Linked DNA regions of Homo sapiens: region 1 is linked to region 2. The links are contacts of gene promoters, found by promoter capture Hi-C in blood cells and fetal thymus (Javierre and others, 2016). All regions are on one chromosome and are shown on one strand. The core of a region is centred on a gene start or on the middle of the fragment in contact, and the rest is flanking DNA. Distances in the headings are between cores, read along the strand shown.

What was found. Contacts are between HindIII fragments. The CHiCAGO score rates a contact against its expected background, and 5 or more counts as called.
Region 1: a fragment that was not itself captured here is called in contact with the fragment with the promoter of SPHK1 in region 2 in 3 of 17 cell types (megakaryocytes, endothelial precursors and M1 macrophages); the score reaches 6.0 in megakaryocytes.

Annotation. Positions count from the first base shown.
Region 1 is chr17:76,288,323-76,294,462 of GRCh38, reverse strand. QRICH2 (glutamine rich 2) reads left to right here. Exons shown (of 19, transcript NM_001388453.1): 4 at 442-3,448; 5 at 4,386-4,471. Among named protein-coding and RNA genes, the nearest start is that of QRICH2, 17 kb to the left of the region's middle. The HindIII fragment of the contact is 4,189 bases long and covers 2,700-6,140 here.
Region 2 is chr17:76,379,968-76,385,858 of GRCh38, reverse strand. SPHK1 (sphingosine kinase 1) reads right to left here and starts at 1,250. Exons shown (of 6, transcript NM_001142601.2): 1 at 1,053-1,250; 2 at 205-408. The coding sequence starts at 214. RefSeq lists silencers at 883-1,582, 2,163-2,302, 2,323-2,612. The HindIII fragment of the contact is 9,575 bases long and covers 1-5,489 here.

The DNA of each region.
Region 1 (6,140 bases), core at 3,545-6,044, 95 kb after region 2:
CCTCCCAGAACGTCAGTGTGTTTCTTTTCCTTTTCTTTTTTTTGAGATGGAGTTTCACTCTTGTCACCCAGGCTGGAGCACAATGGCACAATCTCACGGCAACCTCCATCTCCCAGGTTCAAGCAATTCTCCTGCCTCAGCTTCCTGAGTAGCTGAGATTACAGACACATGCCACCACGCCTGGCTAATTTTGTATTTTTAGTAGAGATAGGGTTTCACCATATTGGTCAGGCTGGTCTCGAACTCCTGATCTCAAGTAATCCACCCGCCTCGGCCTCCCATCAGTGTGTTTCTTTATGTCAAGCTTAGCTTTTAGGACCAGAGGGCTTTTTTCTCCAGGGGCCCTAAATCATCCTAGTCAGAACTTCCAGATTTCCTTTCTTCCCACTCTGATAGTGAATATTTTGACTGTTATTGATTTCCTTCTTCCTCTCCAACCAGGGCTCAGAAACACTTATGGGATTTTCTAAGCACGGAGGGTTCACTTCCTTAACATCACCTGAAGGGACTCTAAGCGGAGACTCTACCAAGCAACCAAGTATTGAGCAGGCTCTGGATTCTGCCAGTGGTCTTGGCCCGGATCGGACTGCATCAGGATCTGGTGGCACAGCACACCCCTCTGATGGGGTTTCCAGTAGGGAACAAAGCAAGGTCCCCTCTGGTACTGGGAGACAGCAGCAGCCGAGGGCCCGTGATGAAGCTGGCGTGCCACGACTCCATCAGTCTTCTACATTCCAATTCAAATCAGACTCAGATCGTCACAGGAGTAGAGAGAAGCTTACCTCGACACAACCAAGAAGAAATGCACGTCCTGGTCCAGTTCAACAGGACTTACCCTTGGCCAGAGACCAGCCCAGTAGTGTGCCCGCTAGCCAGAGTCAGGTCCATCTAAGGCCAGATCGTCGTGGGTTAGAACCAACTGGCATGAATCAGCCTGGATTAGTGCCTGCTAGCACTTACCCACATGGTGTGGTACCCCTCAGCATGGGTCAGCTTGGTGTGCCACCACCTGAAATGGATGATCGGGAATTGATACCATTTGTCGTGGATGAGCAACGTATGTTGCCACCATCAGTACCTGGCAGAGACCAGCAAGGATTGGAACTACCTAGCACAGACCAACATGGTCTGGTTTCAGTCAGTGCATATCAGCATGGTATGACATTTCCTGGCACAGACCAACGCAGTATGGAACCACTTGGCATGGATCAGCGTGGATGTGTAATATCAGGCATGGGTCAGCAAGGACTAGTACCCCCTGGTATAGACCAGCAAGGATTGACATTGCCTGTCGTCGATCAACATGGCCTGGTTCTACCTTTTACAGACCAGCATGGTTTGGTATCACCTGGTTTGATGCCAATTAGTGCAGATCAGCAAGGTTTTGTGCAGCCCAGTTTGGAAGCAACTGGCTTCATACAACCTGGCACAGAGCAGCATGATTTGATCCAGTCTGGCAGATTTCAGCGTGCTTTGGTGCAGCGTGGTGCATATCAGCCTGGCTTGGTCCAACCTGGTGCAGATCAGCGTGGTTTGGTCCGGCCTGGAATGGATCAGTCTGGTTTGGCCCAACCTGGTGCAGATCAGCGTGGTTTGGTCTGGCCTGGAATGGATCAGTCTGGTTTGGCCCAACCTGGTAGAGATCAGCATGGTTTGATCCAGCCTGGCACAGGTCAGCATGATTTGGTCCAATCTGGCACAGGTCAGGGTGTCTTGGTACAGCCTGGTGTAGATCAGCCTGGCATGGTCCAACCTGGCAGATTTCAGCGTGCTTTGGTGCAGCCTGGTGCATATCAGCCTGGCTTGGTCCAACCTGGTGCAGATCAGATTGATGTGGTGCAACCTGGTGCAGATCAGCATGGTTTGGTACAATCTGGTGCAGATCAGAGTGATTTGGCTCAACCTGGTGCAGTTCAGCATGGTTTGGTCCAACCTGGAGTAGATCAGCGTGGTTTGGCACAACCTCGTGCAGATCATCAGCGTGGTTTGGTCCCACCTGGTGCAGATCAGCGTGGTTTGGTCCAACCTGGTGCAGATCAGCATGGTTTGGTCCAACCTGGAGTGGATCAGCATGGTTTGGCACAACCTGGTGAAGTTCAGCGTAGTTTGGTGCAACCTGGTATAGTTCAGCGTGGTTTGGTGCAACCTGGTGCAGTTCAGCGTGGTTTGGTGCAACCTGGTGCAGTTCAGCGTGGTTTGGTCCAACCTGGAGTGGATCAGCGTGGTTTGGTTCAACCTGGTGCAGTTCAGCGTGGTTTGGTCCAACCTGGTGCAGTTCAGCATGGTTTGGTCCAACCTGGTGCAGATCAGCGTGGTTTGGTCCAACCTGGAGTGGATCAGCGTGGTTTGGTGCAACCTGGAGTGGATCAGCGTGGTTTGGTCCAACCTGGAATGGACCAGCGTGGTTTGATCCAACCTGGTGCAGATCAGCCTGGTTTGGTCCAGCCTGGTGCAGGTCAGCTGGGTATGGTGCAGCCTGGAATAGGTCAGCAAGGTATGGTGCAACCTCAGGCAGATCCACATGGCCTGGTACAACCTGGTGCCTATCCTCTTGGTTTGGTACAACCTGGTGCATATTTGCATGATTTATCTCAATCTGGGACATATCCACGTGGTCTGGTGCAGCCAGGAATGGATCAGTATGGTTTGAGACAACCTGGTGCATATCAGCCAGGCTTGATAGCACCAGGCACAAAGCTTCGTGGCTCTTCAACATTCCAGGCAGATTCTACAGGTTTTATATCAGTACGTCCATATCAACATGGTATGGTACCTCCTGGCAGAGAACAATACGGCCAGGTGTCACCACTCCTAGCCAGTCAAGGTTTGGCATCACCTGGTATAGATCGAAGGAGTTTGGTACCACCAGAAACTTATCAGCAAGGTTTGATGCATCCTGGCACAGACCAGCACAGCCCAATACCACTGAGTACAGGTTTGGGATCTACACACCCAGATCAACAGCATGTGGCATCACCTGGCCCAGGTGAGCATGACCAGGTATACCCAGATGCAGCTCAGCATGGCCATGCTTTCTCTCTCTTTGACAGTCATGATTCAATGTATCCTGGTTATCGTGGCCCAGGGTATCTAAGTGCTGATCAGCATGGCCAGGAAGGTTTGGATCCAAATAGAACACGAGCCTCGGACCGACATGGAATTCCTGCCCAGAAGGCCCCAGGCCAAGATGTCACTCTTTTCAGGAGTCCAGACTCCGTCGACCGAGTCTTATCAGAAGGGAGCGAAGTCTCGAGTGAAGTCCTGAGTGAGCGACGCAATTCACTGCGTAGAATGAGTTCTAGTTTCCCCACGGCAGTGGAGACATTTCATCTGATGGGAGAGCTCAGTAGCCTCTATGTGGGGCTAAAGGAGAGTATGAAGGATCTGGATGAGGAGCAGGCCGGCCAAACCGACTTGGAGAAGATCCAGTTCCTGCTGGCACAGATGGGTGGGTGCCGCTTGCCGATAGAGGAGAAACCATTGTCTCTGTTTTCAGTTGGTTTCATCCTTTTCTTCCCCTGGCCTCAACTCCTGGCTGCTACACATCTCCCTGAGTCCCTGAAAACAGCATGTCATTCAGAGCATGTCCCACAGCCTTCAGAGTCCAAAAAAATGGGTGGGCAAAGGAGAGAACTAAGCCCCAGGAGAGGAGTGGAGCGGGTTCTTGTGGCTTTGTCAGGCTCTCTGCACAGCAGTGGGGGAAAGTGTCTGGTTATAGAGAGCAGTAGCATTGGGAGGTGGGCGGGAGAGAATGTTGAAGAATTAAACTTAACATTTTGACTGGGAGCAATGGCTCACACCTGTAATCCCAGCACCTTGGGAAGCAGAGCTGGGTGGATAGCTTGAGGCCGAGTTCGAGACCAGCCTAGGCAATGTGGCAAAACTCTATCTCTACCAAAAAAAACAAAAAAAAAATTAGCCAGGCGTGGTGGCACACACCTGTAGTCCCAGCTACTTGGGAAGCTGAGGTGGGAAGATTGTTGGAGCCAGGGAGGCAGAGGTTGCAGTGAGCTGTGATGGATCACTGCACTCCAGCCTGGGTGACAGAGCAAGACCCTGTCTCAAACAAAACAAAACTTAACATTTGCCTGTTCCCAACTCCAAGCCCAGAGAGTAATTAAGATTTTTTGCAGTGGTTGGAATTCGGGAGTCAGTTGTCCCAAAGCCCTTTAGGATGTCAGGCATTAGGTGGATGTTTCATGGGCTAAGGACAGCTCTCTCTCCCTTCTTCCCACCTCCCTTTCCCAGTCACCAGGAGACACAGGATAAAGTAATAGGTCCTGCTGTCCTCTAGGGTAGCTTCAGTGTTACAGGGGCTGGAAATGGAGATTGGGAGCCCACTAGAGATCTAACCCCTCTGATCATAAGGCTTCTGCTTTCCATAGTCAAAAGGACCATACCTCCTGAACTGCAGGAGCAGCTGAAGACCGTAAAGACGCTAGCCAAAGAAGTTTGGCAGGAGAAAGCAAAAGTAAGGAAGAGTCAACCCACTTTGTCTTTTTTTTTTTTTTGAGATGGAGTTTTGCTCTTGTCGCCCTGGCTGGAGTGCAGTGGCACCATCTCAGCTCACTCAACCTCCACCTCCCAGGTTCAAGCGATTCTCATGCCTCAGCCTCCCGAGTAGCTGGGATTACAGGCATGTGCCACCATGCCCGGCTAATTTTGTATTATTATTTGTATTATTATTAGTAGAGATGGGGTTTCTCCATGTTGGTCAGCCTGGTCTTGAACTCCCAACCTCAGATGATCTGCCTACCTTGACCTCCCAAAGTGCTGGGATTACAGGCGTGAGCCACCGTGCCCAGCCCCCACTTTGTCTTTTAATGCTAATAATAGCACTTTCCATTTGTATTTTACGGATTAAATAGCTCTTTCTTTTACATTATTATCTAATTGGATCTTTGCAATCTTATCAGATAGGAACTGCACCTTGGGTATCATCGTGTTCATTTCCTGGATCTAAAACCTGATGCTCAGGCTGGGCACGCTGGCTCATGCCTATAATCCCAGCACTTTGGGAGGCCAAGGCAGGAGGATCACTTGAGCCCGGGAGCTCGAGACCAGCCTGGGCAACATAGCAAGGACTTATCTCTACAAAAAATTTAAAAATTAGCCAGACATGGTGGTGCATGCCTGTAGTCTCAGCTACTTGGGAGGCTGAGGCAGGAGGATCACTTGAGCCTGAGTTTGAGGCTGCAGTAAGCTATGATCACGCCATGGCACTCTAGCCTGAGTGACAGGGCAAGACCCTGTCTCTAAAAAAATTTTTTTTAAAAACTGATGCTCAAAGCTATTATGATTCAGCTGAGCCAAATAATGAGGGCTTTGCTCTTTTCTTTTTTTCTTTTTTTTTTTTTTTGAGACACAGTCTCACTCTGTCGCCAAGGCTGGAGTACAGTGGCGCAATCTCGGCTCACTGCAAGCTCCACCTCCCAGGTTCACGCCATTTTCCTGCCTCAGCCTCCCAAGTAGCTGGGACTACAGGTGCTCGCCACCACGCCCGGCTAATTTTTTGTATTTTTAGTAGAGATGGGGTTTCACCGTGTTAGCCAGGATGGTCTCGATTTCCTGACCTTGTGATCTGCCTGCCTCGGCCTCCCAAAGTGCTGGGATTACAGGCGTGAGCCACCACACCCGGCCTTGCTCTTTTCATTATCTGTGGCAGCCTTGGAGTCCAGTTTGTGGATTTTCTGGGGCCAGAGGTCATTGCAAGGGACGGCCAGATCCCTTCAGACATTCTCCTTTTTTTTTTTAAATTGAGACGGAGTCTCGCTCTGTTGCCCAGGCTAGAGTGCAATGATGCGATCTCGGCTCACTGCAACCTCTGCCCCCTGGGTTCAAGCTATTCTCATGCCTCAGCCTCCCAAGTAGCTGGGATTACAGGCATGCATGTTCATGCCCAGCTAATTTTAGTATTTTTAGTAGAGACAGGGTTTCACCATGTTGGTCAGGCTTGTCTGGAACTCCTGACCTCAGGTGATCCTCCCACCTCAGCCTCCCAAAGTGCTGGGATTACAGGTGTGATCCACCACGCCCGGCCCAGTCATTCCTTTTTTTTTTTTTTTTTTTTTTTTTTTTTAAGACTGATTCTTGCTCTGTTGCCCAGGCTGGAGTGCAGTGGCACAATCTCGCCTCACTGC
Region 2 (5,891 bases), core at 1-2,500:
CGGCCTTTGCTGGGAGACCTGGGGTGGGGACGCGGCGCCCCTGCCACCCCCTTCCTTGGCTCAGATTCGGCCGGCTTCTGGCCTCGTGAGGGATAATGTTTCTCCCGATCGTCCACAGCCCCTTTCGTCCAGCTGGGCGTTCCATCATTCCTGGCGAGGAACAGGAATCCCCCTACAGCCCTTCCCAGCAGGAACCCCACAAACCTGGATCCATAACCTCGACCCGCGGCTCCCGCTGCCAGGGGGTCCCTGGCGCTGTGGGGGCGCTGCCCGTGGCGGCGGCTCCTGCCTTCAGCTCCTTATCGGTGCTGCCCAGGCGGGCGTCGCAGGGCCGGCTGTGGGGCTCGCCTTCCCCGCCCGGAGCCGTGGCTGCAGGAGCACCGGCGTCATTCCCTGCGGCGGCTGGACCTGAGGGAGAGAAGACAGCGCTGGCGGAGTCCGGGGCCGCAGCTGCCAGAGGTGGGGAGCGCCCGACTAAATCCCGGGACCACGCGCGGGGAGCCAGGTTCCCGGGAAGTCCAGAGAGCTGAGGTCCGGTGCCTCCGAGGGCGCCCCCGCCGTGTGACTAAGCCTACAATCCCTGAGAAGGGCGCCTGCTCCGGGGCTTTCTCCCTGGGGCTTGGGGTTCGGTTCCGGCCCGACGGATGAGTCAGAGCCCCGTGGCTCCCTCCGACGGACTAGCTCCTCACCCCTCGGGGCTGCCAGGGGGAGGGGAGTCCAGCTGCGTAAAAATCCCAGAACTTGAGCGGACATTGCTGGGCACGAAGTTCTGGGAGAGGATCCCTGCCCCAGCCATCCAGGTTGCCGTGTCCCCTGCCCGGAGCTCCAGAGCGGTGGGAGCCGCGGCGCGCGCTTCTCAGGGCCCCGCTCCGTTGCGACGCGCGCGGCGCTCGTGGGAGCCGCTCCCGGGTCGCGCCAAAGCCAAGCCCGAACCGGGCCACCAGCTGCCGCCTGCTCTCGCCCAAGCGACAAGTGGCCCAGTTCCCGGGGCCCCGCGAGGGCGGGCCGCACAGGAGCCACGAGCGGCGCGAAGGCAGGGTGGGCGGCCCTACCCAGTCGGTCCGGTTTGCTGGGGAGGCGCCACCGCCGTTCCCTACAGTGGCCTGGGGCGGAACGCAGCTCGTCCCAAGCTCAGCCCACGTCTGAGGGACTGGAGCGCCCCGCTGGAGCGGACTCCCCGGCCTCGCTCCCTCCGGCCTCAAACTTTTCGCTCAACTTCGCAGCCGGCGCCGCGGAGCGGGGAGGGCACTGAGCCTCGGCGCCGGCCTGGCTCCGCCCCGCGCTCCCGGGGGTGGAACCTGAGCCCGGCGCGGCCTCGGCCTCTGCCCGCCTCCGGCCTCAGCGCGCCGCCTCCGGCACGGCCCGCGCCCACGGCCGGGCCACGAGCTGGTTCCCGCCCGGGTCCTAGGAAGCGGCAAGCGCGCCCCCGCCGCTCGTCCTAGGCGTCTGGCTAGAAGGCGGCGCCGCGACCTGGCCGGGTGAGCTGAGGCGGCAGGCCGCGAGGCGCGGAGTCCCGGGCCCGGCCGCGAGCGCAGTGTCTGGGGCGCGCGAAAGCGACCGCGCAGCGCAGACGGAGGCGCGGGCTCCGCGCGAACTCGTGTCGGAGCGAGCGCCGGGCGCGCGCGGCTCCGCTCTCCCGGGGGACCCTTGGTTTCACCTCGACGCCACGACCTCGCCCCCGCGGGTGCTGTCGGCGCCGGGATGCAGCGCCCCTTTTGCGCGCTCTGCCCTAGCCCACCCGAAATTCGAGGCCCGCACGCCACCCGGGGCGCCTCTCCAGGCCGGGGCGTCTCGCCCGCCGCCCACCAGCTTCCCTCTTTCTTCCTCCCCCGCGCTCCCACGGAGGTTATTTTTAACTTCCCGACGCTGCAGCTGGGCTACCGAGCCTGAGGCCGCCTAGCGCGCTGTCCCGGGTAGAGCAGGCGACAGGCCGGGGGCTCCGAGCCGGAGAGGAGGCTTGACAGTGTAGATGGGCCTGGGGGCCCCCGTCGGGATTGGAAAGCCAAGCATGTGGTACGTGCCCCCCGCCCCCTCTGGCTCAGCGTGAAGAAGGGGCGCCGGAAACGCGCTCAGAAGTTGTCACTTCTTTGGAGGCCAGTAGGGACGCGTTTGTCAGTGTGTTTGTGATACACTTATCGCGGCAAGCCACAGAACGTGTCCGCGAGCACCTCGAGTTAGATCCCTGGGGGGTTACGGCGGAGACGGAGGAAGAAGTTGCCAAGGCCCATTGGTGACCTGCCCAGGTAGGGCCAGAGTTAGGAGAAACCAAGCCCCTGCGGGAGGCTGCGGGGCTCGCGCGCCCCCGCCGGCCCCACCCGCCCCCACACACCTCTCTCATCGCTTCTTAAAGTCGAGAAGAGGCAGGTCCAGGAGGAGCACGCAGCCAATTAGCCGGGCGGCGCCCTGAACTCCGGCACGCCTCCGCGGTGTCTTCTCTTCCGGAGGACCCAGGCAGCTCGGCCCCGTTTCCCAACACTTGGGGGGTCAGACGGGCGGGACCCGAGAGTCCCCGGGCGGGTCGGGGGGCACTGGCTGGGACGCGGGGTCCCTGGGGCCGCAGCTCCGCGCGCGTATCGGCGGGTGCGCCTTCGCCTTGCGCGGCCCCCGGGCAGTCCCCGCTGGGTCCAGAGCGTCCCGAGCGCGTTCCGGGAAGGTGACTCAGCGACGCGCTCAGGGGTCGAAAAACTCCGAGAAACAGGAACGAGGGGAGGGAGCAGGGGCGTCATCCCCGACTCCTGGCGTCGCGGCGCGTGTCGGAATGATGGGTCCTGCACCTCCGAGCCCCCCACCCCCTTGCTCCAGGAATCCGGCGCGGGCGGGGGAGAGAGCCCTGCAGCCGCAGTGCCGCGGTCATGCGCTGCGGGGACGCGAGCGGCGGCTGTGGGAGGAGGGGGCTCCGCGCGGGAGCCCAGGACCAGATCCGTCCGCCCCTCCCCTCTCCTCTGCCTTCTTCCCCTCCTCTTCCTCCAGCGAGGGACTTTGGTGCCTAGAAAACGCGAATCGGAGGCTGTGCTCCCCGAGATCTCAGCCTTCGAGGGTACTGGCTGCGGAGATTAGCTGGGGCAGCCTTCCCCGTCTGCTCCCCGCCCCGGAGAGCATTTCCACCAAATCTGAAAAGCTCTGTCATTAGCCATAGAGTCTGAAGAGGGGAAACTGAGGCACAGGGAAGCACTGTGAGTTCGTGGTGATAAAGCCCACCTGGTTCAGGGTCCCCCCTTTTTTTTTCCTCCTGGGGCCCCAGAAAGGTCGGATCCTGCGCCTCCAGGCCCACTACCACCAGCCTTGAGTCCGCGGAGCGGGCGGGGGCGGGGTTGACTGCAAACTGAGTTGGCAAGGGGAGGCGGGGCACGGGCTCTTTATCCAACGCCTCCGGGCCCCAGCTCCCCTCCTGGCTCTGGAAGGCCCCGCGGGAGGGAGGCGAAGGGCAAAGCCCTCTGGCCCCGGTTCCAGGCCGCACAATGGGTCCTCTGTCCTCCCTGGCGCCTAACCCCCTGCCCCCCTCACCTCCAAGGCCTTTGCCCCCCTCATTCTTGTCATTCACTTCCCCCAACCCAGGCTGCCTTTCTCCAGACCCCTTTCCCCTTCTCCCTTTCTAAAGAATTTGATCCTATCTCCAGAAACTCCCCCAGCTGCATCCCTGCTCAGAGAGGCAGGATTGGCCAAGAGCAAGATGGTTCCCCTTCCCACGGTTGCGGGTCGGGGGGCGGGCACTTGGATCTCTCAAGCTGCCAGCTTGGCCCGTTTCCCACTGTACTTTACTTCCTTTTTTAAAAAAGAAAAAAGGACAAGGCGGGAAGGAGTTGGGGGGGCCTGAAACCCTGAGAGGTGAAGAGGCTTGCACAAGCCTCCAACCAGTTCCCCACAAAGCAGAGAAGCAAACCTGTGAACCCAGACCCCACGCTGAGAAGCCAAGTCCAGCCAGAGCTCCCCTCTGGGCCTCTCTGTATCCCAGGCTATTTCTCCCTGAAGGGCAGGTATCTGGGGATCTGGTGCCTGGTGGATTGCTTGCCGCAGAGCTGTGGCGTCTCCCTGAGGAGGAGGAAGCAGCAGGCCGGGCGCAGTGGCTCACTCCTGTAATCCTAGCACTTTGGGAGGCCGACGTGGGTGGATCACCTGAGATCGGGGGTTGGAGACCAGCCTGACCAACGTGGAGAAACCCGTCTCAAACCCCGTCTCTACACCGGGTGTGGTGGCGCATACCTGTAGTCCCAGCTACTTGGGAGGCTGAGGCAGGAGAATTGCTTGCACCCAGGAGGCAGAGGTTGTGGTGAGCTGAGATCGTCCCATTGCACTCCAGCCTGGGTGACAGGGCGAAACTCCATCTCAAAAAAAAAAAGAAAGAGGAAGCAGCTCCAAGCCCTCCCCAGGCTTCATCCTGAGTCTGGAAACAGCTGAGCAGCCGCTGTGCTCAGCAAGGCCCACCGTGGGCCTGGGAACAGGCCTGGGCCGGCAGAGAGGTCTGATTTGATCACCAACCCAGAGCTTGGCTTGCAGGTAATCTGCTTCACAGGTGGGAGACTTTTTCTAACTTCCCCAGCCTCCCCTTCCTTGTGGGCAGCCTCCCCAGGGAGACACACCTGAGAACCCCCTTTTTTCTTTTCCCGAGAAAGAAAGCAGGCATTCACCTGGCCTGGTCCCAGCTCTCCAGAAACTTGGAGTCAAGGCTGCCAGATGGCAAATTACTTGCTTTTATGAGGAGAGGATTCCTGCCATCTCACCCTTCCCTGAAGCTACCTTCCCTAGGAGATTTCAGCTCCCTAATTGCATAGCCTCAAGGTCTTCCTTGACCTCAACTTCTTTCCCTTTTTTTTTTTTTGAGACAGAGTCTCGCTCTGTTGCCCAGGCTGAGGCTGGAGTGCAGTGGCGCGATCTTGGCTCACTGCAACCTCTGCCTCCCGGTTTCAAGCAATACTCTTGCCTCAGCCTCCCGAATAGCTGTGATTACAAGTGTGAGCCACTGCACCTAGCTAATTTTTGTATTTTTAGTAGAGTTTGTGTTTCACATGTTGGCCAAGCTGGTCTCAAACTCCTGACCTCAAGTGATCCGCCTGCCTCGGCCTCCCAAAGTGCTGGGGTTATAGGCATGAGCCACCACTCCGGTTTTTCCCTTTTTATGGTACTTTACTGCCTAGGGGGTTGCAAGGACCGGGGAAGGGGGAGGTTCTATCTCACAAGCTCTTTGAGCTTAGGGGCCGGGCACGGTGGCTCACATCTGTAATCCCAGCACTTTGGGAGGCCAAGGCGGGTGATCATGAGGTCAGGAGATTTGAGACCATCCTGGCCAACATGGTGAAACCCCCGTCTCTACTGAAAATACAAAAATTAGCTGGGTGTTGTGGTGCATGCCTGTAATCCTAGCTACTTGGGAGGCTGAGGCAGGAGAATCGCTTGGACCCGGGAGGCGAAGGTTGCAGTGAGCTGAGATGGTGCCACTGCACTCCTGCCTGGGGACAGAGCAAGACTATGTCTCAAAAAAAAAAAAAAAAGCTTAGGGCTGGTTGGGCGCAGTGGCTCACGCCCGTAATCCCAGCACTTTGGGAGGCTGAGGCGGGTGGATCACGAGGTCAGGAATTTGAGACCAGCCTGGCCAAGATGATGAAACCCCATCTCTACTAAAAATACAAAAATTCGTCGGACGCGGTGGCAGGTGCCTGTAGTCCCAGCTGCTCAGGAGGCTGAGACAGGAGAACTGCTTGAACCCAAGAGCGAGCCGAGATTGCACCACTGTACTCCAGCCTGGGCAACAGAGCAAGACTCCGTCTCAAAAAAAGAAAAAGAAAAAAAAAAGCTTAGCGCTGCCCCCACATGGCTTTCCATTCTCAGTTTCCTAGATGTCATTTCCAGGTCGACCATACCAGGCATTGGGGTGGAGGGGATGCCACGCGCCACAC